2 separate regions of the Homo sapiens genome follow, and region 1 is linked to region 2. Evidence: promoter capture Hi-C in human tissues and cell types (Jung and others, 2019). All regions are on one chromosome and are shown on one strand. The core of a region is centred on a gene start or on the middle of the fragment in contact, and the rest is flanking DNA. Distances in the headings are between cores, read along the strand shown.

Evidence for each region. The method cuts DNA at HindIII sites, captures the fragments that hold promoters and counts their contacts. A contact is called where the count stands out against the background at its distance.
Region 1: a fragment that was not itself captured here is called in contact with the fragment with the promoter of NADSYN1 in region 2 in 1 of the 25 tissues and cell types used here (mesenchymal stem cells).

What each region holds. Positions count from the first base shown.
Region 1 is chr11:71,210,145-71,216,912 of GRCh38, forward strand. All of the region lies in intron 2 of SHANK2 (SH3 and multiple ankyrin repeat domains 2), which reads right to left. Among named protein-coding and RNA genes, the nearest start is that of SHANK2, 39 kb to the right of the region's middle. RefSeq lists an enhancer at 4,691-5,272. The HindIII fragment of the contact is 3,598 bases long and covers 2,161-5,758 here.
Region 2 is chr11:71,451,872-71,458,179 of GRCh38, forward strand. NADSYN1 (NAD synthetase 1) reads left to right here and starts at 1,332. Exons shown (of 21, transcript NM_018161.5): 1 at 1,332-1,510; 2 at 3,239-3,299. The coding sequence starts at 1,426. DHCR7-DT (DHCR7 divergent transcript) reads left to right here. Exons shown (of 2, transcript NR_186309.1): 2 at 1-286. RefSeq lists enhancers at 1-50, 171-250, 1,488-1,989, 1,990-2,489 and a silencer at 1,061-1,430. The HindIII fragment of the contact is 4,997 bases long and covers 1-4,835 here.

The DNA of each region.
Region 1 (6,768 bases), core at 2,710-5,209, 240 kb before region 2:
GTATTTAGTGGTGCATACCTGGTCTCAGCCCTTGCCACCTGGTCCTCTTCATTGGAAATCCACAGGTATATATATATATATATATATATATATATATATATATATATATTTATTTATTTTTTGAAACAGAGTCTCTCTCTGTCGCCCAGGCTGGAGTGCAATAGTGTGATCTTGGCTCACTGCAAGCTCTGCCTCCCAGGTTCATGCCATTCTCCTGCCTCAGCCTCCCGAGTAGCTGGGACTACAGAAGCCCACCACCACGCCCGGCTAATTTTTTTGTATTTTTAGTAGAGACGGGGTTTCACTGTGTTAGCCAGGATGGTCTCAAATCTCCTGACCTTGCGATCCACCCACCTCGGCCTCCCAAAGTGCTGGGATTACAGGTGTGAGCCACCATGCCCAGCCCAGATACATATTTATATTCATGTAATGTGCTTTTGTTTCTGTTCACACTCATCTCACTTCTTCCCTACTGGCAGACTGTTCCACAAGTGTCAGGAAATCCACTGCAGCTGGAGACCAGATCACTCCATCCACCCACTTCCCCCCACTTGACCTGGGGCTCAGTGGATACCAAGAGACCCAGGCGTCTGCTGAAGGAACTGGGGACAGAGAGCACCATTGTCCTAAATAAAACACACTCCACACCTGGACAGCACTCTCCCTGCTCCAAGAATGAGCCCGGAAGCCTCAGGACTGAAGAGAAAAACATCTTGGGGGCAGTGAAGAGAGTGTGATGCAGCGCCGGCACTCCCCTCATCCTCACGGATTTGGGGAAACATAACAGGTCCAAGACAGACGCATGAGGAGAGGGCAGGGGTGTATTCCAGTTCAGTCCATCTGCACCGCTGACAGGATCCTGCCATTTGACCCCTCAGGGTCCTGTTTCAGGGGGGTCCCCCAGGGCTGCTGCAGCCCTAATTGCTCCCCTTACCAAGTTCACGATGACAGCTCCCTGAGACACCCACAGGCCCCGTGGCTACTCCATATTCCCTGGCACCCAACCCTGGACTCAGTCCAGCACACTGTGTCCTATTGGTCAATTTCCTTTTTTTTTTTTTTTTTTTTTGGAAAAAAACATTGAGATTTTAAAATTTACACATCATCGAATTCACTCATTTAAAGCATGTAACTCAGTGCTCCCAGCCTTTTGGGAGGCCGAGGAGGTCAGATCGCTTGAGCTCAGGTGTTCAAGACCAGCCCAGGCAACATGGAGAAACCCCATCTCTACAAAAACATAAAAATTAGCCAGGCATGGTAGTGTGTGCCTGTAATCCCAGCTACCTGGGGGGCTGAGGCGAGAGAATCACTTCAGCTAGGGAGGTCAAAGCTGCAGTGAGCCACGGTTGTGCCACTGCCCTCCAGCCTGGGCAACAAAGCAAGATCCTGTCTCAAAAAAAAATAAATAAATACAATAAATAAAATGTATAATTCAGTGGGTTTTAGTGAGTTCACAGAGTAGGGTATCTATCACCACAATCCATTTTTGAGCATTTGCAAAAAAAAAAAAAAAAAATTAACCTGTATCCCTTAGCCATCACTCCTCAAGCTCCCCCATCCTCTCCCTCAGTCTCTCCCCAACCACTAATTATTTTCTCTATATATAACTTGGCCACTTTGAGGCATTTCATATAAATGGAATCACATGATGTATGGTGAGTCAATTCTCTTTCATTCTTTTTTTCACTTCTTTTGAGAAAAGCTTTGCAGTTGTCCAGATCTCCTCTGTGCATGGTTCTTTAAGTTGCATGCCTGAATCACTTCAAAATATGAGATGGGAACACACTGGAACGACTCTGGCTTAACGTCCACCTCAAAGCCTATTCACTGTGTTTTCAGCTTTCACTGAGGTCAAAGATATTTGAAACCATTTTGTTTTTTGCAAAACCCCACCTGCAAACACCGTGTCGCATGAAAAAATTCTTCCTAGATGAGAGCACCAAGAAAAGTCTGCTTTCCAAATGAACTGATATTAGACAAAAGAATTCTGTTATTCCATCTTTCTCTTCTTGCCCTGGCTGCCAGGAAGCTCAGAGATTAAAAACCGGATGTTAACTGTACAAATGCTCTCTTATGCTACAGTTGGGTCTTAGAGACTCCTCATGGTTCAAGCAGAGTTTTACCAGCGTGGCATGCAGAAGACTCATTTGGGAAAACAGCTAAAAAGACAGATTCCTACTGAATCTGATATCCTATAGATAAGGTCTTAAAATCTGCAATTTAAATAACATGCCTAAAAATGTTCTCAGACCTGGCTTTAAAGCCAAAGCAAAATGTCACAGCCCTTTTCCTAGGACTTAAAAGACATTCTGGGGAAAACAAGCCTCGTTCCTCCTCTTGTATCATCTTCGTCCTCACCCAGTGAGCATCCATGTGCATCATGTGGCTGTTTCCAGGGGCTGCAGTGAACAGAGCAAACGTGCCCATTCCACGAGAAAGGGCTGTCATTGCTCTAAGATGATGAGACCATCTTTGGCCGAGATGGAAGGATTTATAGAAATGAGCATGCTGAACACAATCCTGTTCCCTGGATGAATAAACTCAATCCAAGTCCTCAAAGGGTTCCAGCAGTTTCCATGAATCCACTTCCTCAACGTCAAACACCAGAGCTTTGCAAAGCTTTAGGACGTTCTTGCCACCAGGAATCCCTGCTCTGGTAGGAGAGGTTTCTTTCCCCATTTCCCTCACTGGGTAACCAGGTCGGAACAGCAGGTGGAGGCACAGGAAGAGGAGCAGGGACCCCAGGCGGAGGCACAGGGAGAGGAGCAGGGACCCCAGGCGGAGGCACAGGGAGAGGAGCAGGGACCCCAGGCGGAGGCACAGGGAGAGGAGCAGGGACCCCAGGGGGAGGCACAGGGAGAGGAGCAGGGACCCCAGGTGGAGGCAAAGGAAGAGGAGCAGGAACCGAAAGACACTGTGCCCATTTCTACAGCGTTGCAGGGTGCAGGACTGCTGCTGCCACCCAGGTAAGTCCAGGGGGCTTAAGGGCTGAGGTTCTTTACAGAGAACAAGCAAAGGTGGAAAAGGAGAATCTTCCCGGGACAGCAGGGACTCCTAGCAGCTGAGGGGCCAGGCACAGGGAGGCTCTCACAACAGAGGCAGATATTTCCCACACGGCCAGCAGCCTGCACAGCTGTGCCTGCCAACAACTGTCTGGTATTTTGTGAGGACGCCAAGATTACCATACTCTTTCGTCCCTCTATTCTGGAAAACACAGTTTGCTCCAACCTTTCACTATCCTAAATAGTGCCAAGTTGGACATCTTTATGATCACAGTTTCACTTTACTCTTCCCTCTGGATAAATCCCCAGGGGCAAGGTTTTTAACTCAAAGTCCATTTTCCTGTAAAACAGAGGTTCAAACACCACACAGAGGAGAGCGCAGACTCTGTCCTCTGTGCTCTGGAATTGTTTTTAATCACTGCACGAGCCATGTGGGGCATTAGACCTAAATAGCATTGTTGAACTCTGAGGGTCTCCTTCTGATGTTCCCCACACTCGGAAACTGACTCCCTGTGGGAAAAGGTGGTGGCCACACCTGAGCACCGGGCTGATCTTCCTTCTACAAACATGTCATCTCCCTCTCTGGCTCTTGCCAGCCTGCCGCCTCCATCCACACAGAGGAACGGCCTTTCTGATAAGCAAACTGGACTAATCATGTCTTCTATTTTCTGTCTTAGGACGTTTTGACATCTAGGGGAGCCTCGCAGACACTGGGAGAGACCGCCCCTTCCAGAGCTGGCTAGTTCCCAAAGACAGTAAGTGGCTTCCTTGGGCCATTTACCATGCACTCGCATGCACAAGCCAACCACCCCTTTTTCAACTCCTGTTCACCCAGCCAATATGAACCACCCCTGCCCTAACGCGCCCCAGGACCAGGTGCCAGGCAAGCAAAGACCTCCCCTACAGCCCCAGGCCTGCTGCAGTGACTCACCTGGCCTGGCCCTGCCTCTCTCACAGAAACCCCCAGAAAGGGTCTGGCCTCAGTTTCCTCCCACCTCCTGCCTCCTGACCAAACCCTGGGGCTTCCCCTGTGGCCCCAGGGCTCATGCCCCCTGCTCTTGGGAAATGTAAGCCATAAAACCTTCTTTTGGGAAATCTTTTTGTCCTCACTCAGCCACCTCCATCAGTTAAAATCCCGCAGCACAAATGAGACAGACGCAGCAAGGAAGACAGTTTCCACGCAGGTGAGGAACCGCGTGCTGGCTCCCCTCTGGACCTCCCAGCAACAAACCAGGGCTCCCCAGGCCCTAGAGGGACACCCTCCCTTCTTTTCCACCCACAGCCGAAACACACACAGCTGGGACTTCTTTCTTCTGTAGCCAAAAGACATCGTGATTTAGCGCCATCAGCTTTGCTTGAGAAAACGACCTTCCCTAACCACACGTTTCCGAAGAAGTGTCATCTCTGCTCAGCCTGCTAGGTTGGGAGACTAAAATGTGAAGATGGGTCTGGCTCAGGGTCCCACTGCTGTCTCAGCAAGTCTGGCCAGAAGCTAACTGGAGTCAGGCCAAGGGGGCATCACTGTCAGACCCTTGGCCCACCCAAGTGCCCACCCACACATCTGTCGCGTGCCACCCCGGGCTGCCCTGTCCTCTGGGGTGGGGTATCGCGCAGTTCTGACTGGGACCCATGCAGCTGTCCTCTCGTGCAATTGCTAAGAAGGTGAAGTGGGGTCACAAAAGGCCATTCTAGACCAGCAGGTGCTCGATGGGAGGCCTGGGGGTGGCCACAGCCTTTCGTTCTGGTCTCCAGGTATTGAAGGCCACCAAGCATCCCGCCTTCCACACATCCTCCTCTCGGCAGGGAGGGAGAACAGAATAGGGCTGCGTGGCGGTTTCCTCCTGGATCCCACATACACAGAGGAGCTGGCTGTGCTGCAGGTACATGGGGCTTTCCCTTCAGCGGACAGCTCCCTCCACCAGCCATTCTCCCACAGCCCACACGCTCACACCATCAGGCAGGCATGCCCCGATGTGCGATGTCCTTCATCAAAACCCCTCGTGATAGTGCAGCTTAATGCCATCCGAGTGCTGGAAAGAACCACAGGCCCCAGCTCTCACCCTGGAGCCGCAGCAGGGCCCACGCTCTCTCTGAGCCTCGGTGTCCACCACAGTCTCAGCAGGGGCAGCACCAAGTAACATCTGGTCCCCCTGCCCCCTGCGTCTGTACTTTTGAGGCCTCCCTGGCTCCCCTCACCCTGTCTGAACACGCCACTCTGTCATCTCAAGGCTTTGTGTCTCCCATGAAGCCTTCAGCAGGTTCTGCCCTGGTCACCCCTGGCTGCCCATCAGCAGGGCTCAGGTCCCAGAGGCACCGAGGGAGCTTCAGATGGTGCCTCCTGCCAAGACAGGCCCCCTGAGCGAACGTGAGGTCAGGCCTGAAAAGAAAGCAAGGAAGGCCTGCTGAGGATGTACCTCCTTTCCCAGGCAGGCACCTGCAGAAGGCCACAGCCCCAACTGTTCCCCGAGGAGGTGTCCCCACATAGCCATCCGTGGCACAGTGGCTCCCACTCAGGGCCCTGCTAATGTCCTCGGACATCCATCTACACCTCTCTCCCTGCACACACTGCAGGCGTGCCAGCTCAGGAGCTCAAACCTCTGCAAACACGATTATTTAGCAAAACCCAGACATGACACCCCAGAAGCGGCACCCCCACTCTGTAGTCAGACCACAACCTTTTTAGGGACAAGGAGTGGAGTCAGGCTCCCGCAGCACCTACCACCACCTTGGGCACATTGCTGATGCTCAAATCAAATCTTTCGAACCACAATGAGACAGCGCCTCCCCCACCCTCCAGGATGAAGATAACCAAGAAGAGAGATGGGAACAGAAGCAGGCAAGGGAGTGGAGCAAGTGGAGCCCTCATCCGACGCTGGAGAGGAGGTCCAACGGCGCAGCCACTCTCTGGAACATGGTTTGTCCCTCCTCCACTGAGGGACACACGACTCCACACGGCCCAGCAGCTCCACTCCTAGGAATCTACCCGAGAGAAACGAAATCGCGTCCACACAAAAGCCTGTACAAGAATGTCCAAGTGTGTAAAAGCCAAAAAGTGGGAACAACCCAAATGTCCAGCATGTGATAAACATAATATTGGATTAAAAAGATGCTGTATCATATGGTGCAGTATCACTCAGCCTTTAAAAGGAAGGAATCACTGAATCATGCTAAACGTGGTCAAGCCTTGAAAACATGATGCTGAGTGAGAAGATGGACACAAAGGTCATGTATTATACGATTCCATTTATATGAACTGTCCCAGATGGGCAAATCCGTAGAGATGAAATGGAGATTTGTGGTCGCCAGGGCCGGAGGTGATTGGTTAGAGGGATTCAGGAGGAGGGAGTGACTTCTAATGGTACAGGTTTTGGGGGGGAATATAAAAAAAGATTACTCTTCACAAATGTTAATATTGATTTGGGTGATGACTGCGCCACTCTGAAAATACAGCCACGTGCTGCTGTCAACATTTCAGTCAAGGAGGGACTGTGTATGCAATGGCGGTCCCATAAGATTGCAATGGAGCTGAAAACTTTTTATCACCAAGTGAGGTCACAGCCCCAGGGACGTCGTAGCTCAATGCATTCCTCACGCGTCTGTGATGCTGCTGGCCTAAACAGACCTCCTGCACTGCCAATCTAATTAAAGTCTAGCACATACAATTTTGTAGGTACATAGTACTCAATAATAAGAAAAAACTATGTTACTGGTTTATGCATTTACTATATTTTTTAGAGTATATGCCTTCTACTTATTAAAAAATAAA
Region 2 (6,308 bases), core at 82-2,581:
TTAAGTCTCCACCCCAAAGTGAACATGGGTCATATATTACATGCTTTGCTCAATAAGAGGGCATGTGTCAGGACCACCTTCATGAATATTCATAGCTCCTCCTGTTACCTGTTGAATATGTATGTTTAGCCAATCCCTTCAGCATAGCGCTCCTGCCCCAACCCCTCCTCCTTGGACGTGCCTGTCTCTGGCCTTGGCTGGAGACAGATTCCCAGCCTCAGACAGATGGCCGCCACCTTGCAGGCTACGACCGTTTACAAGAAATAAAGCCTTCTCTTTTTCCAAATTTGTGAATTGTGTGTTTTTAAACTAACATGAATGACAGAAGGAAGGATGGCCTCTTCAAGCAACGATGATGAGGCAGTTATTTATATGGGGGAAAAATGGATTCTACCGTGGGTGGACTAAAGAGGAAATGTGAAAAAATAAAAAGTGAGAAACCGCTGGTAGTGAATCGGTGCAAGCGCCCTGGAGAAGAGACTTGGCAATATTTAGTAAAGTCAAACAGCACGAACCCTACTACTCTGCAAAGCTGCTGCAGGAACTGGCGGAACGAGGTCACGAAGGAAACCTTGCCGGAAAGGAAATTGCAGCAGTGCCTGTGTGCGTGCGTCTGTTGGCAAAACGCTGCTAATAACGTCAATGCCCATCCGCTATTGAATAAACCTGCTTTACTGCCACTATGGAATACCAAACTGCAGAAAAATAATTAAAAGAACGTATCTCATATTACAGGGGAAAAAATCAAGTTGCAGAAGCACATTCAAGTGCAGTTCCTGTAGTTTCAGAAAAGGCAAACAGTGCGCTACCTGAGCTACTTACACACGTGGTACAGGAGTGAAAGGGGCAGGAGAGGGTTCCCAAGAATTCAGCGCCATCCGCCCAGGGTGGCGGGATTCCCAGCACGGAGAATCGATTGCTATCGTCTGCTGTCCCGCGGGCACGATGGAGCGCTCCTACCGTACTCTCCACTTTTGGTGTATTTGGAACGTTTCATGCCGTATTAAAATAAAACATGGCTAAGCTGGATGTGGGGTGGCGGTGTGGGATAAAATAGAGGGGTGCTGCAGCTGGGCGGTGAGCCCCCTGCACCTGTGCACCTGAACGGGTTTGCCCGCAAGGGCCGGGCCGGGGCCGGGGCCTGGGACGTGGGTGGAGCCGGGGCGGGGGCGGGGCCCTTCGCGGTGCCGTGAACGCTGAGGCCACCTCGCTGCGCAGGCGCGGTCGTGAGCTCCTCAGACGGGGCGGGGCGATCCGTAGGCAGGGCCTGACGCCGCAGTCCTCCTTGGCCGGAGCCTCAACGGATGGGCGGGGAGGGGGCGGGGCCGGGCAACCCGGAAGGTCCGGCGTCCCAGCCGCCTACCTCGCTGGGACCCTGGTCTTGCTGTCCCCCGCTGGCCTCCTGCCCAAGCGACTGCGGCCAGGATGGGCCGGAAGGTGACCGTGGCCACCTGCGCACTCAACCAGTGGGCCCTGGACTTCGAGGGCAATTTGCAAAGAATTTTAAAGAGTGAGTCTGGGGCGGCGGGGGCACCGGTTTGGGGTGGCGCACGGGCACCGTGGCTGGGCCCAGGCTTGCCCGTGGCGTGCTCACAGCCTTGCCCTGGGAAACTCTCGGCCCTGGGCATGGGATCAGGTGAGATAATGGGCAATGACCCCGCCAGTGGTACGTGCTCAGGTCCTCGTCGGGAAGTGAGTGTTTATAGTTCCCGGGGACGAGCGATATACAAGGCACGGTTAAGAAAAGTCTGGCGGCTTAGGCGGGAGGCCTGGGGATGGACCCGTGTTCTGATATCTCTGGGGTCCCGTGGTTGGGACTGAGCTGCCCATTCTCGGAGATATCTAAGTTGAACAGAATGGCTGCGCACTGGCGGGGATGGTGTGCAGAGGCCAGAGATTGATGGTCTCTGGTCCCCGTGGGCCTTCCTGGTGGGAGAAGGCGTCCCAGAAAGGGAAGTAGAAAAAGACGCCTGTCATCCCAGCATTTTGGGGGGGCCGGAGGGGGTGGAAGTCACCTGAGGTCAGGAGTTCAAGACCAGCCTGGCCATCATGGTGAAACACCGTCTCTACTAAAAATACAAAAATCAGCCGGGCGTGGTGGCCTCGAAGATAGGGTGTGGTTGTTGAAAGGTCACCATCTAATTTTCGTTCATATGGACGCACCGTGGAGGATGAAAAGTTAAACTATTACACCTGCACCTAAATGGGCAAGCCTGCAGGTGTAGTCAGGTTGCAGCTTGTCTTGCACTGGTCTGCTGACTGCAAGAGCCTTTGCCAGGAACAATAGAAACAGAATGTTTCAAGAGATGGCATCTAATCAGTATGTGCCCTGGATTATTATTATGATTATTATTATTTGACATGGACTGTCACTCTGTTGCCCTGGCTGGAGTGCAGTGGTGTCATCTTGGCTCACTGCAGTCTCTGCCTCCTGGGCTCAAGCGATTCTCCTGCCTCAGCCTCCTGAGTAGCTGGGATTACAGGCGTCTGCCACCATGCATGGCCAATTTCTGTATTTTTAGTAGAGACAAGGTTTCACCATGGTGGCCATGCTGGCCTCGAACTCCTGACCTCAAGTGATCCACCTGCCTTGGCCTCCCAAAGTGCTGGGATTCCAGGCATGAGCCACCGCAGCCAGTGGTTTTTTATTTTTATTTTTTAAATATCAACCTGCTTTCACCTCATTTGCTCAGAGCAAATCTAGTTGAACTGAAGAAGGCTTGGCCAAAACTAAGTTTCCACTCTGCCAGCCTCTCCTCCCTAGGTGCTTGTTGGAAGCTGCTGCCCAAGACCAGTAAGCCGATGGTGCCTGACAGTGGCACCACTGCTGGATCGTAATCCTCTAAGTCCTTTTTCCTCTAGATGGTGTTGGGCATTTCCTTGTTAATAAACTACCAGGGTCTGACTTCTTCCTCTTCCTCCGCCTCCTCCATGGTGCTAAGGGTCAGACCTGCAAGCCCTCCCTGTTTCTCATTTCCTGCAGATATAAGCAGGTATATGCAAGTATAAGCAGGTGCAGGCGTACTCGTGTATACAGGTGTATACAGGTGTATGCTGCCCTCTGCTGCCATGCTGTCAACAGGAAGCCTGACTGCATCCCGTCTGGGAAGGCACAGAGCATTTTTGTTTGTTGTTTGTTTTTTTTTTTATCCTACCTACTGCAGCAGGTTGTTTCATCTGTCTTTGAGTGTATAGGTGCTGAAATTGCTCCATTTTCTTTTTCTCTCTGTACTTACAGGTATTGAAATTGCCAAAAACAGAGGAGCAAGATACAGGCTTGGACCAGAGCTGGAAATATGGTGAGAACAGACACAGACACCCTGGGGTCGTCAGCTAGCGATACCAGCATCAGTTTTCCCCAGCTGAGAAGGCAAGGAAGGAGCAGGGACAGTCCTGAGAGCTGTGGACACGCCACACCCACTGTTGGGCCTGGTTAATGCCATTGAACACCTGAGCAAGGGCAGGCCCAGGGAGGCTGAATAAGTCTAGATTCCCATGTTGAGTAATTAAAAGAACTGACTTTTACCAGATGAAGGCCAGTTTCAAAGTTGGGCTGCTTCTGTGTTACCACTGCCCTTTTGCTGTGGTCTGAATGTTTGCGTCCCCACAAAATTCATATGTTGAAACCTAACCCCCAGATGATGGAATTAAGAGATGAGGCCTTTGGCAGGTGATTGGGTCATGAGGGCATGAGAGTGGAGCCTGCATGAATGGGATTAGTGCTCTTACAAGAGAGGCCCAAAGGAGCTTGTTGGCCCCTTCTACCATGTGAGGACACAGAGAAGGAGACAACCAGTCCTTACCAGATACCAAATCTGCCAGCACCTTGATCGTGGGCTTCCCAGCCTCCAGAACTGTGAGCAATACATTTCTGCTGTTTATTAATTACCCAGTCCAAGGTGTTTTGTTATAGCAGGCTGAAGGACCAAGACATATTCCCAGGTTTTCATTCCGTGATCTCAGAATCTTTCCACAAGCAAGCATAGGTTATCGTTTCTTATATGCCTTTTTGTAAAAATCAGGAAAACTGATTGCTTATTTCCCTTCTTGTCCCTTCAAAAACAAAAACAAAAATGAAAACAAAACAATGAGTAGCCACGTTGTAAGTCTCTTGTAAGCGATAGTCCTTTCTCATTTTGGATGTCAGCTGCCATCTGTGCTCTGCTAGTTTCCCGTTGGTCTTTAGGCCTCTGACCCGTTGTGGGATCTGGAAGTTCCTCTTCAGTCTTTGTCCCCTGCCTTAGTGTGTGTTCTTGCTTCTGGACTTAGAGTAAGCAGGAACTGTCTTCTCTTAGGAGGTTTTGTGTGAGTCCAGAGGCATCTTTCTCTAAGTCCTTCCAAGTTTCTTTCCTTCATTAGATTGATTTCTCTCCTTAGAATACCACCTTCAAATAGGGCTGTTTCTCCCATAATATCCAAGAATGTTTACTTTGTTCTTTAATTTGTCTTCATTTGATTGATTCTTTAAGAAATTCTTCACCTAAGTGCCAAGGGATCTAGGGTTCTGGGCTGTCTGATATCACAAAGCTTCGATCCTCTCCTGGCCCCGTGGCCGGATCTTCTCCTGGGCTGGACTCAAGGCCTGATCGTCTCGTGAGCCTGACCTCTCCTGGGCTGGTCCGGGGGCCTGATCCTCATGTCCTGTCTGCTGCTTGCCCTGGAGGAGCTGCAGTGGTGACAGCCCAGTCCCCCTGGCCTGATGTTGCCCAGATGCTTAGAGTTTACGTCTTCTTTTCTTTCTTCGTCCTAGTCTCTCTCTCCTATAAATGTTACATCCACCTCTCTCTTTCCTCCAAATATGGACCTGTTTCATTTTAAAAGTGGGAGGATGTCTAACTAAAGGCCCCCGGGATGGAATATTTGCATCCAGCAGGGACAGGGGCCCAGCTGAGCAGGTCTCCAAGTAGCTTACAACCTGCTGAGCAGGCTCCTGTGAAATATTCCAACAACTTACAGAGAGGAAACCGAGGCAGGAGAGGAGGGACATCACTTCACTGAGCACACCGCCTCTTGTTCTTACTGGTTAGAGGTCCAGCACCTGATACACAGGGAGGGCCCAGTGGCCCTAGAGCAGGCTGACTCATGGACCAGAGACCCTCTCACCTAGAAAAGTCAGCAGTTTCCTTTGAGCTGGTGCTGGAAGCTTTGGAAAGGGAAGGCTACCACCCAAATGGCCCCAGGACCAGCTCCTGCTGCTGACTCACCGAAGGGGTGAGAGGCCTCTGGTCGCTGGATGCCATGCAGCGGGACGTGTGGTGTTATAACGTTATTTGGTTTCACATGTGGGCCAGGACGCCAACAGGGCATGAAAACCCATGAAACGGATCCGTTGGAGGAGAAAGGACATCTCAGAACTCCATTCCCTACTGGGACATCTCCTGGATGCCTTTTCTATCTGAGAACTGGGCTTTTCCTCTTAGCAGAGCCAAGGCAGAGAGCAATGCTTTCCCAGATACTGAAAGTCACAATTGCTGGTTTTGGGGTTTATGCAGGTGTGTGCGAGGTTTGCTGGGCATTTGAAGTGTGCCTTCCAGGCTGATGTGTAGTAGAAAGGAGAACTTCTTGAAGAGTTATAAGTGTTCTACAGATACTCTATATTTTATTATGGGAACCCCAATACTAAGAAACCCAGCCTTCGCATTTAATGACACCACAGATTATTGAATTAATTCCTGTGGCTGCCGAAACAGATAGAAACAAACTAGAGGCTTAAAGCAACAGAAATGTATTCTCTCACAGTTCAGGAAGCCGGAAGTCCAAAATCAGGATGGCAGCAGCGTCTGGCTCCCTCCGAAGGCTCTTGGGGAGGGTCCCTCGTGCCTTTCCCAGCTCCTGGTGGTTCCAGGTGCTCCTTGGCTTGTGGCCTCATTGCTCCCATCTCTGCCTCCGTCCTCATGTTGCCTCCTGTTCTCCCTGTCTCTCCTCTCCTTTCTCTTACAAGGACACTTGTCATTGGATTTAGGCCCCCCTGCAAAAGCCAGGGTGATCTCATCTTGGGATACTTAATTTAGTTACATCAGCAGACTCTTCTTCTAAAATAAGGTCACCTTCGCAGGTTTCTAAGGTGGGGTGTGGACGGACCTTTTTGGGGTTCATCATTCAGCCGACTACAAGCATCTGTAGCAAGAAACACAGGGGCAGCTTTGTGGGTGGTTTTTCTGAATGGTTATTAGTGATCTTCTTTGCCAAAGAATGGATTTCTGTGGGTCCAGCTTTGTTTCTTTGAGGTTCTTCTCTTGTAGATCAGTGTCATTTGGGCCACATTAACAGTTACAAGGAAACCCAAGGGCGGGCACTTCCTGATAGAG